2 separate regions of the Homo sapiens genome follow, and region 2 is linked to region 1. The links are contacts of gene promoters, found by promoter capture Hi-C in human tissues and cell types (Jung and others, 2019). All regions are on one chromosome and are shown on one strand. Each heading gives the region's core, a stretch centred on a gene start or on the middle of the fragment in contact. The rest is flanking DNA. Distances are from core to core; before and after follow the strand shown. Region 1 overlaps TCF3 (transcription factor 3). Region 2 holds the start of RPS15 (ribosomal protein S15).

Region 1 (5,856 bases), core at 2,161-4,660:
CCCAGTATGTTGCATTTTTTGCCCTTGAGGGACGTGATGTGGCTGCTCCAGCCTGGGACCCCCCAGCTCCTGGACACAGAGGGGTGACCCCCTCCCCGTTCAGTCCATGCAGTTAACGCCCGCCTGAGCCCGGGGGTGGTGGAGGATGCAGAGCTCCAAGGCCTGAGTTGGTGGCACCCTCCTCATTGCCTCCACTCCCCCAGGCCCCTGCAGGCTGTGGCGCTGGCCCCAGGTGTGGCCCTCCCGAAGCTCCCGCAAGATGGGCACCTGCTCTCTTCCATCGTCAGGTTCAGCGAGTCGATGGGTGCGAGGGGCGGAGGGATCCCGGCAGGGCCCAGGAGCTGCAGTAGCTCATTTCCCCGCTTCCTGCTTCTCCTCTCCGAGGACCCAGGAAGAGGGGAGTTTGGGGCTCATCAGCAGGATGGAGCCCCGGAGCTGTGGGATCCCTTCCCAAACCTCGGCTTCTTCCTGGAACAGTGGGTGCAGCTTCCTTCCAGGCGGGGCCTAGTTGGCTTCGGGGACGCCACCCTTCGCCAGGAGTCCCCAACGCTGATGGCTGATGGGGTACCCCAGCCGCATTCTCCACCTTGGCCCCTTCTTCATGTGCCCTGTTCTAGCTCCCTTTTAAGTCACCTCGCTTTTCTTAAGTTCATTTGAAAGGAAACTTTAGATTTGAGAACCAGAAACCCAGGTGAGAATAAAAGGTGTCCCTGAAAATTAATTAAACATAAGTTTTCCCCTGTGAAGGGTCTGCCTGTTCTTCGATATTTATAAATATTTAAAAATTGGTGTCGAGAGAGGAGTTAGGTACTGGGCAAGGTGGCTCACACCTTTAATCCCAGCACTTTGGGAGGCCAAGGCAGGAGGATCGCTTGAGGCCAGGAGGTCAAGGCTGCAGTGAGCTATGTTTGAGCCACTGCGCTCCAGCCTGGGTGACTGAGAGACCCCAACTCAAACAAACAGAAAAGGGCCAGACACAGTGGTTCATGCCTATAATCCCAGCACTTTGGGGGACCAAGGCGGAAGGATCGCTTGAGCGCAGGAGTTAGAGACCAGCCTGGGTAACACAGCAAAACCTCATCTCTACTAAAAATACAAAAATTAGCTGGGCGTGGTGGCGCACACTTGGGGTCCCAGCTACTCGGGAGGCTGAGGCAGGAGGATTGCTGGAGCCTGGGAGGCGGAGGTTGCAGTGAGCTGAGATTGCGCCACTGCCCTGCAGCCTGGGTGACAGAGCCAGACCCTGTCTCAAAACAGAAACGAAACAAAAAAGGCATTAGAGATTAACGAATAGGAAACCAAGATTTTCTGGTTGTCTGGATCGGAAGACATTTAAAACGGGAATAATTTTCGTACGCCTTCTCCCACCCACCGCCTCCCATTTTTGGAAACCCTCAGGCACAGGTCTCTGAGTGACAGCCTATCTTCTGCCAAGACAGACAGGCTCTGAGGCCACGGGAGACACCAGGAAATTGCTTATTGACGGACCAAAGGAAAGTTCTTTCCTATTTTTCATTTCCCCGTCGCTTTCTCTGTCCGTGCGATTGTAAGTGTGACACACGGTCAGAGTGAAAATCCACAGAACGGCACCTCCGCGTTCTGCTTTAAGAGGAAACCCCGGGAGAACCTGGCGCATGGGTCATTTCCTCCGGGTGCGTGTCTGGGAGTGGAATTGCTGGGTCCCTGGATGCTTTTTCACATTGAAAGCGTCCCTTGTGACCGGGCGCGGTGGCTCAGGCCTGTAATCCCAGCACTTGGGAGGCCAAGGCAAGAGGAGTACCTGGGACTAGGTGTTCGAGACCAGCCTGGCCAACGTGGTGACAGCACGGCCTGTCTCATTTAATAGGTGACAAAGATCGTGTCCTTTCACCTGCCACTTGTTTAATAGAGGGCGGTGGTCTTCTCGGAAGGGGATTGACCCTGTGAATGGCTCTCTGGTGAATTTTCTGTTACTCTCTTGGGCCCTCGTCCTTGAAGTTGATCCACTTTTTATTCTGAAGTCTTTCGGGATTCACAGGAAGTGGCAGAGTGTTCTCCTCTCACCTAGCCACCCCCAGGGGTACCGTCCCGCCCACCCGTGGTGCTGCGTCAGACCTAGGAAGCCGACATTGGTGCCGTCCACAGATCCTGATCAGATTCCACCGGCTTTACACGCACGTGTGTGTGTCTGTGTGTGCGTGCGGGTGTGTGTCTGTGCGTGTGCGCGTCTGTGCGTGTGCGTGCGTGTGTGCGCACGTGTGTGTGCGTCTGCGCGTGCGTGTCTGTGCGTCTGCGCGTGTGTGCGTGTCTGCGTCTGTGTCTGCGTGCGTGTGTGTACGCGTGCGTGTGTGTGTGTGTGTGTGTGTGTGTGTGTGTGTGTAGTTCTGTGCAGTTTTGAGACATGCACCTTCTTTAAGCCCAGGAATCACCAATCTGTTCTTCATCTGTACGATTTTTTTTTTTTAGGGACCAGGTCTCACTCTGTTGTCCAGACTGGAGTGCAGTGGTGTGATCATAACTGACTGTAGCCTTGAAGTTCTGGGCTCAACTGATCCTCCCACCTCAGCCTTGTGAGCAGCTGCGACCACCTAATTAAAAAAATATGTATTTTGTAGAGGGCTGGGTCAGCGGCTCACACTGGTAATCCCCAGCACTTTGGGAGGTTGAGATGGGAGAATTGCCGGAGCCCAGGAGTTCAAGACCAGCCTGGGCAACATGGAGAAACCCTGTCTCTGTTTAAAAAAAAAGAAAAATTTCAGCTGGGTGCGGTGGCTCACACCTATAATCCCAGCATTTTGGGAAGCCAGGGTGTGTGGATCACATGAGGCCAGGAGTTCAAGACCAGCCTAGTCAACGTGGCGAAACCCCGTCTCTGCTAAAAATACAAAAATTAGCTGGGCGTGGTGGTGCGTGCCTGTCATCCCAGCTACTCGGGAGGCTGAGACACGAAAAGCACTTGAACCTGGGAGGCGGAGGTTGCAGTTAGCTGAGATTGCGCCACTGCACTCTGGCCTCGGGGACAGAGGGAGACCGTGTCTGAAGAATAAAAAAATATTGTCTAGATGGGGTCTTGCTGTGTTCTCCAGGCTGATCTTGTATTCATGAGCTCAAGTGATCCTCTTACCTCAGCCTCCCAGAGTGCTGTGATTACATGTGTGAGCCACTGTGCCCAGCCCAATTTTTCACTTTGAGTATTTTGTGTAAATGGAATCCTATAGTTTGCAACCTTCTGAGATTAGCTTTTATTCTGTTACGTTAGCATAATTCCCTGGAGATCCAGCCAAGCTGTTGGCTGTATCTTTTTTTTTTCTTTTTATTGCTGCCTCATTAACTTTTTTTTTTTTTTTGAGACCGAGTTTTGCTCTTGTTGCCCAGGCTGGAGTGCAGTGGCACGATCTCAGCTCACTGCAACCTCCGCCTCCGCCTCCGCCTCCTGAGTTCAAACGATTCTCCTGCTTCAGCCTCCTGAGTAGCTGGGAATATAGGTGCCTGCCACCATGCCTGGCTAATTTTTTGTAGTTTTAGTAGAGACATGGTTTCGCCACGTTGGCCAGGCTGGTCTCAAACTCCTGACCTCCAGTGATCCACCCACCTCGGCCTCCCAAAGTGCTGGGATTACAGGCGTGAACCACCGCGCCTGGCCGCCTCATTAACTTTTTAACAACATCAGTAATACAACAATTTACATCACTTTTTTTTTTTTTTTGAGACGGAGTCATGCTCTGTCACCCAGGCTGGGGTGCAGTGGCGTGATCTCAGCTCACTGCAAGCTCCGCCTCCCAGGTTCACGCCATTCTCCTGCCTAGCCTCCCTAGTAGCTGGGACTACAGGTGCCGGCTAAGTTTTTGTATTTTTAGTAGAGACGGGGTTTCACCTTGTTAGCCAGGATGGTCTCCATCTCCTGACCTTGTGATCCGCCCGCCTCGGCCTCCCGAAGTGCTGGGATTACAGGTGTGAGCCACTGCTTACATCAGTGTTTCTTGAGCACTGTGCATTGGACACAAAGCTTGGCTTATTCACTGGGAATTCTCAGTTCTAACAGGTTAGCGAAATAGGTGTAATTATTACCGTATTTTACTGGTAAAGAAGCTGAAACTTAGAGAGTTTAGTAACCATTGCGCTAATTTTTTGTATTTTTAGTAGAGGCAGGGTTTCACCGTGTTAGCCAGGACAGTCTCGGTCTCCTGACCTGGTGATCCTCCCGCCTCGGCCTCCCAAAGTGCTGGGATTACAGGCATGAGCCACCGAGCCCGGCCTCATTTGGCTGTTTGATAATGTTTGTAGGCGCCTGTCTGTCCACCCGTGCCAAAAGTGCTGGGATTCCAGGCCTGACCCTCTGCGCCTGGCCCCGTTCGGCTCTTTGATAACGTTTGGAGGCGCCTGTCTTTCCACCTGCGCAGGGAGGCTGAGGGCGCCGCGGTCCTCAATGCGCCAACTTTTAGGTGGTTTCTTTGTTCTTGACTCGGCTGCCCTGTGCATTTTCTCTCTCTCGTTGATTTTTCTTCTGGAGAATCTGCTTCATTGGCAAATCGATATTGATCAATTGATCAATTTTCCTCTTTATCGGCATTTCTTCTCTTTCTAAAGTTTTTGGTGACTTTCAGATCACAGGCCCCTTTTGCTGACTTCTGCCCTCTTCTGTTCCATCAGTGTGGTGTTGAGGGTTCCACCCCGTGAACCCCATCCCATTGGTTTCCATAATGCATGTTTTTCTCATATTACTGACATTTGTTCCTTTTTTTTTTTTTTTTTTTTTTTCCTAATTTCCTCTTCAGGTCAGGTTGCTTCAGAGGTTTCTGAGTTCCAAGTTGGAGGTCCTTTCTTGATTTCTAGATCTCCAGTGCCAAAACTCAGCTTTGGCTTAAACGGTAGCTACTGTTTGGAGGACGCAGAGCTCCTCTGCCGAGGCTGAAACATGGATTATTTTTGTCCTTCTTTGTGAGTACTTGAGGGATAGTTGGATGTGGAGCTGCGAGGCCTTTGAACCATATTTAGATTTTTAATCTGTTTAATGTCAGGCTGAGAGCAGCGCCATCCCCCTCTGTTCTGTTTGTCGGTTTCTCTGTTGACGTATTTAGATGCCAGGATTGTGGGCTTGTGTGGGCTGAGACAGTGGGATTTCGTTGTGGGTCGAGCCATTGTCAACAACAAAAAAATCCGTTCCTTGGCTGGTGGTGGTGGCTCATGCCTGTAATCCCAGCACTTTGGGAGGCCAAGGCAGGTGGATCTTCTGAGGTCAGGAGTTCAAGACCAGCCTGGCCCACAGGGCGAAACTCCATCTCTACTAAAATATAAAAAATTAGCCAGGCATGGTAGCAGGTGCCTGCAATCCCAGCTGCTCGGGAGGCTGAGGCAGGAGAATCACTTGAACCTGGGAGGCAGAGGTTGCAGTGAGCTGAGATCGCGCCACCGCACTCCACCCTGGGCGACACAGCGAGACTCTGTCTCAGAAAAAGAAACCTCCCTTGAATTGAAACTTCGATATGAAGGTTGCAACCCTTCCTTTTTGTTGGTGTGGCTTGGCAGATCTTTGTGCTCCTGGTTGTATCTCCTGAGTCGCTTGTTTCAAAACTGTCTTTGGTCGGCACCGTGTTTTCAGATTAAAGACGTTAAGCACCCGTCCATCTTCGTTCTCAGCTTTTCCTTCCATCGTCTTATTTTGTTTTTCCATCTGTGTGCTCCCAACTCCGGATTGCTTCCCCCGGTGTGTGTTTTCTGAAGCTCTGTACCGCTTTGCGGCTCTGCCAGTGGTTCTTTTCTAGTTTTGAATAACACGTTTAAGGCCGTGATTGAATAGCGGTTAGTATTCTGCGTTGTGAAGAACACGTTTAAACACGCCGTTTCTCGCGCTCTCAACGTCCGAAGTGAAATCGCATC
Region 2 (5,856 bases), core at 1-2,500, 200 kb after region 1:
AGGCGGGAGGGTCGCTTGAGCCCAGGAGTTCAAGACCAACCTGGACGACACAGAGAAACGCTGTTTCCACAAATAATCAAAAATCAAGGTCGGGCGCGGTGTTCACGCCTGTAATCCCAGCACTTTGGGAGGCCGAGGCAGGTGGATCACCTGAGGTCAGGAGTTTGAGACCAGCCTGGGCAACACTGAAACTCGTCTCTACTAAAAATACAAAAATTAGCCGGACGTGGTGGGGGGGCCCTCTAATCCCAGCTACTCGAGAGGCTGAGGCAAGAGAATCGCTTGAACCCGGGAGTGGGAGGCTGCAGTGAGCTGGGACGGAGCCATTGCACTCCAGCCTGGGCGACAGGATGAGACTCCGCCTCAAAATAATCAAAAATTAAAAAATAAAAGCGCAAGCCAGATGCCCACCACCACCCTGCCTGGAAAGGACCCAGCGACCTCCACCGCCCTTAAAATCTAAGGAGTCTAACGCAGCCCCTTATTCTAAGTCACGTGGGCTACAGACAGGGGCTACACCTTCCAACTAAGCCGCGGAAAAGTGAACAACGGGGGGCAGGTTGCAAATAAGCAAAAACCTCAACGTCTCTGGACAGTTTTCTGGGCGCAAGACCACACTCAGTTCCAAACCCGCGCGGAGACCGTGCCCGCCCACCGCCGCAGAGGCGCTTGGACCCCCGCCCCGCCGCCCTCACCCGGACAAGCCCCACCGCTGGCCCAGCCCCTGCCCGCGACCCCCGCGGCCGCCCTTACTAGGACATGTCCAGCAGCTGGTCGAGGTCCACGCCGCGGTAGGTGAACTTGCGGAAGGTCCGCTTCTTCTTCTGCTCTACTTCTGCCTGTGCGGGCGCGGATCGGGCGTCAGCGGGATCCCGACACCCATCTCCCGGGGCCACCGGGCCCGAGGACACCGCGGAAGACGCGCGGCGCCGCCGGGGACAGAAGCCCGACAGGGACACACCGCTTCGACCCGTCCCCGGGGATCACTCGCGGCTCCGGGTTACGAGGACCCGGACATGAAGGCCCGGACAGGCCTTCCCAGCCCCGCGTCGTCCCGACACCCACCAAGTCCGCCCCTCGCCCCAACATCCAGCCGCCTGCAGGGTCGGGAGCAAGCCGCCGTAGCCGCGGGGACGAACTGCGGCCCCCGCGAGACGGTCAGAGGTTGGATGGAGCCGGATAGGCCCGGCAGAGACGCGCCAAATCGCAACACTCACCATCTTGCCGGATCCTCAGAAGAGATCGCTTTGGTCCGCGCCTGCGCAGTTATCGCGAGACTGCCGGCATGTCCCGCCCCCTCGGCCGTGCGCGCACACGCGCTTCCGCTTTCCCGGCGGCGAACACGCGCCCTCTGCCGTCTGGAGGGCAAAACACAGGCTGCAGGGATTAGAGCAGCCGCCGCCTGAGGTCTGCAGAGCCGCTTCCTCCACGGAGTGGGACTTTGGACAAGTCGCCGCCCCTGTCTGAGCCTCGGGTTCGTGCTCCGTCATCTACACGATGGCACCCACATCAACAAGTATTTATGGAGCGCCTACCGTTTGCTCGTAGGTGCGGTTTGGCGGTTCAGGTCCCACTGTGGGAGGAACACGAGAATTCATTACAGATACTGGAGCAGGGACAGGGCCTCGCTGAAAAGAACCATTCCGGCTTTAACAGATAAAATTTTGTATATAAAGTTAGTAAGGACAACACAGTGAGACTGCCTCTCTACAAAAAAATACAAAAATTTGTGTACACACGGACATAAAAGAATAAAAAGTACAAAAAATTCCCAGCTACTCGGGAGGCTGAGCCTTCAGCCCAGGAGGTCAAGGCTGCAGTGAGCCGTGATCGCGCCAACGGCACTCCAGCCTGGGCGACAGAGCAAGACCCTGCCTCAAAAATAAAGTTAGGAATATCACTGGGTTTGTTAAGATATGTAAATGTAATGTGAATAATGATAGCTCAAAGAGAAGGAGTAACTAGAACTATGTAGGAGTGACTTTTTTTTTTTTTTGAGACAGAGTTTCACTCTTGTTGCCCTGGCTGGAGTGCAGTGGTGTGATCTCGGCTCACTGCAACCTCTGCCTCCTGGGTTCAAGCGATTCTCCTGCCTCAGCCTCCCAAGTAGCTGGGATTACAGGCACCTGTTACCGTGCCCGGCTAATTTTGTATTTTTAGTAAAGACACGGTTTCTCCATGTTGGCCAGGCCATGTTGGTCTCGAACTCCTGACCTCAGGTGATCCACCCGCTTTGGCCTCCCAAAGTGCTGGGATTACAGGCGTGAGCCACCGCGCCTGGCCTAGGAGTGATGTTTCTGTATCTTACTGGAATTAAGTATAAAGTTGAAGGTGACTATTAACTATGGATGTGGCACCTGGCTGGGCGTGGTGGCTTATGCTTGTAATTCCAGCACTTTGGGAGGCCGAGGCGGGCGGATCACCTGAGGTCAAGAGTTCAAGACCAAGCTGACCAACCCTAACTCTACTAAAAATACAAAAAATTAGCCAGGCGTGGTGGTGGGTGCCTGTAATCCCAGCTCCTTGGGAGGCTGAGGCAGGAGAACCGCTTGAACCCGGGAGGCGGAGGTTGCAGTGAGCTGAGATCGCACCACTGCACTCCAGCCTGGGCGACAGAGACTCCTTCTCAAAAAAAAAAAAAAAAAAAAAAAAGAAAAAGAAAAAAAAAAAGCACAAAACCTCTGGGAACCCGAGCTTAGCTGTGGCACTGTCCAGGGAGCTGAGCTCTCCCCAGCCGTCCCCACAGTCCCAAGGGAAGCCAATTACACTGTACTCAGGGAGGGCTGAGTCTCCGTCCCGAGGAGCACAGGACCTATGTGTCGGGCCCGTCCATGTTACCCATTTTCCTGCAGCAGAGTGTCCTGGCTGGAAAGCTGATTTTGTGAGTGCTGCTCTTTGGCTGGGGGAGCTAATGTAACGGGAGGGGCTGACACTCAACACCATGATGACCTGTGGTGTGGATAGACAGCCGCCCCCGCCTGGCCCTCCTGGGAGCTGGGGCAGCAGCTCCTGAGGACATGGGAGAAGGCTCTGACGGCAGGGAATGGAGCTGGCTTCCTGGGCTGAGGCGTTGAGGGGTACTGTCTCAGTGAGGAAACTGCACTGCACAGGGATGTTGGGGGTACCCCTTCTCTTGGTTCTCTCCAAACTAAGTCAAACCTTCCCTGTCCCCAAAATATGAACTGGGGCGGGGGGGGGTGGTTCTGGCTGTCGCCTGAACAGTCTCACGCCTGGCACGCTGTAGGCTTCCAGTTTGGGACTTCATGGTCCTTTTTTTTTCTTGTTTTGTTTTTTGAGACGGAGTTTCGCTCTTGTTGCCCAGGCTGGAGTGCAATGGCGCAATCTCGGCTCACTGCAAGCTCCGCCTCCCAGGTTCAAGCGATTCTTCTGCCTCAGCCTCCCAAGTAGCTGGGATTACAGGCATGCACCACCACACCCGGTTAATTTTTGTATTTTTAGTAGAGACGGGGTTTCTCCATGTTGGTCAGGCTGGTCTCGAACTCCCGACCTCAGGTGATCCGCCCGCCTCGGCCTCCCAAAGTGCTGGGATTACAGTCGTGAGCCACCGCGCCCGGCCCTTTTTAAGTCTCGCCTTCCCTGCCACAGTGACAGAGTATCCCTTTCCAAAGATGCCCCTGTCCTAATCCCCAGAACCTGGGGATATGTCACCTTCCATGGCAAAAGATATGATTAAAGGTCTTGAGATGGGAAAAGCCTGGAGCCCACATTCCCCGAGAAAACTGGTGGTGGCCACATCCTCAAAGTCACAGCATCCCAAGACCCACTGAGGGATGGGCCCAGCTCGCCACTCAGCCTCTGCCCTGAAGCCCTCGGGGTTGCTGAGACCACCAAGAGCCAAGGGGAGGGCGAGGGCGCCTCCGTCGCGTTTCAGACCTTTCCTAGGCACTGGAAGGGTAGGCACAGGCCAAGACCAAGGAGGGAAAAAACGGACACAAAGTGGTTTCTAATCCAAACGCACTTCTCTTTATTCAAACCAGGGTCAAACTGGTCAATGGGAAACGCCCTGAAGCCACGTGCCTGGGGAGAAAGGCTTCCTACTCGGTTCGGTTCAGCGCTGCGTGGGATCCACGCGGCTGGCTGTGCGCAACCCCCACAGTTCACCTCAGACACTACCAAGCAGGTCAGTCGACAAAAGCAAGGAATTAAACAAAAAACAGAAATACACTCAGTAGATTTCTTCTAGAAGCTCCCAGAGTTTCTGGACCACCAAGTCCCAACCCCCAAAGCCAGGAGCGAGGGGACTAACAGCGCACCCCCTCCACCAGTGCCGACGGAAACCCCGTTTTAAATTAAAAAATAAGCCAGTATACATCGTAGAAAATTTCTCTTAAAAATCTCACAATTTGTAAATGTATATTTTTTCTTTAACATAAAAGTTTACAATATACCGTAAAACAAAAGGCTCAGGAAAATAATTTCCAAAAAAAAGGAAGAAAAAGAAACCTGAAGTTTTGAATTAAAGCTGAAGACATTTTTTTTAAACCCTGTTGTTGAACCAGTGACTTTTTTTTATTGTGCTGATGGGTTAGAGAAAGAAATATTTAAAAACCTCAGTCCAGACGACACCCACAGCCGCTCCAAAAGCCTCGCGCCCTCCCCCCGCCCCCCCCCCCAAGGTTGAGTCGCCACTTTGCCGCCAAGTTTGTGATTGTCACGAGTTCACAAGTTTGGAATCCTGGGTCTGGGCCGTGCAGACGTCGCGGCGCCGCGGGCTAGCGTCGGTAGGGGTGGAACCCTTGCACGTTGTGGTTCTGCCCTCGTCCAAAGCCGCTGCCGCCGGCGGGGGGGCCCCCCGACCCTGGCACGGAGGGACCCCCGTAGGAAGGAGGCTGCTGGCTGGGGTCTGAGAAGCCCTGTCCGAAGCCACTCAAGTCCTGCCCGTAACCTGCTGGGGGAGAAAGTCCTGTGAGCTCGGGGCGGTCCCTGGGCGGTTGGCACTGCCGTCGAGCGAGGCCACCTGGACACAGCTCCGCCGAGCCTGCCTTGAGTCCACGGGTCCCACGGGGTGCGGGTGGGGCCCTTCTGAGGCCAGCACCTGGGCCGGGGAGAGGACCCCGGGCATGTTCTCTCCCTCAAAAACATGTGAGCAGGGGCACACACAGAGAAAAGCGGCTTCCAGAGCCCTCCATGGCCCACGTAACCTCACCGCTTCCCTGTTCAATCCCGAAGACGTGGTTGGGGGGGTGAGGGGAGGTAGAGAAGCCTCGGGGCTTGGAGACACACATGGCCCAAGGCACGGTGGACCAGGCTTCTAGAAAGCTGGCTCTCGGAGTTTCAGAAAACCCCTGACGGGCCCTTGCAGCGATACAGGGCCTGCCCCTCCGTCGCAGACCAGACCCCACGTTGTCCTTCCTGTCAGGGCACGTCCATCGGTGGCACGTGTCAGGGAAGGGTTTCTGGGCCCAACCTGACTGCCCCAGTGACACCACTGGCTGAGGGGCCAGCACACCCTGCAGCCCGTCCGGCCCACACAGCCGACCTCAGGAGCATGGACAGCGGTGTCTTTACAAGGACAGAGCTGCTCACGCCGCTCCCCACCCCGCTGCACACCTTGCAGGAAGCCCCTCCCACGACCTCTGGGTTCCCATTCGGGTGCACGTGGGCACAGGTGGGCGTGGGCTCTCTCTGGGGGATCCTGGGCCCGCTGAAGGCTTGTGGCCAATGTCTTGGCACCGGCAAGGGCCCCTTCCCAGAGGGCACCGCCAGCGTCCACCCCCGCCCGGGACGGCAGAGGAAGCCACGTCCACCTCCCGGTGCAGGCGGGTGGGAGGACCCTGGAGAAGGAGGCGGCACCTACCTAGGCCACATCACTGCTCAGCCTGACCATAAGACTGT

What was found. Contacts are between HindIII fragments. The study calls those that stand out against the background at their distance.
Region 2: a contact is called between the fragment with the promoter of RPS15 here and a fragment that was not itself captured in region 1, in 1 of the 25 tissues and cell types used here (dorsolateral prefrontal cortex).

What each region holds. Positions count from the first base shown.
Region 1 is chr19:1,638,633-1,644,488 of GRCh38, reverse strand. The region is part of intron 3 of TCF3 (transcription factor 3); the gene reads left to right. Among named protein-coding and RNA genes, the nearest start is that of TCF3, 11 kb to the left of the region's middle. The HindIII fragment of the contact is 9,192 bases long and covers 1-5,856 here.
Region 2 is chr19:1,433,790-1,439,645 of GRCh38, reverse strand. It overlaps RPS15 (ribosomal protein S15), which reads right to left and starts at 1,250. Exons shown (of 4, transcript NM_001018.5): 1 at 1,218-1,250; 2 at 754-839. The coding sequence starts at 1,220. DAZAP1 (DAZ associated protein 1) reads right to left here. Exons shown (of 12, transcript NM_018959.4): 12 at 3,962-4,909. The coding sequence ends at 4,734. RefSeq lists enhancers at 1,007-1,226, 635-1,505, 4,882-5,385. The HindIII fragment of the contact is 20,902 bases long and covers 1-5,856 here.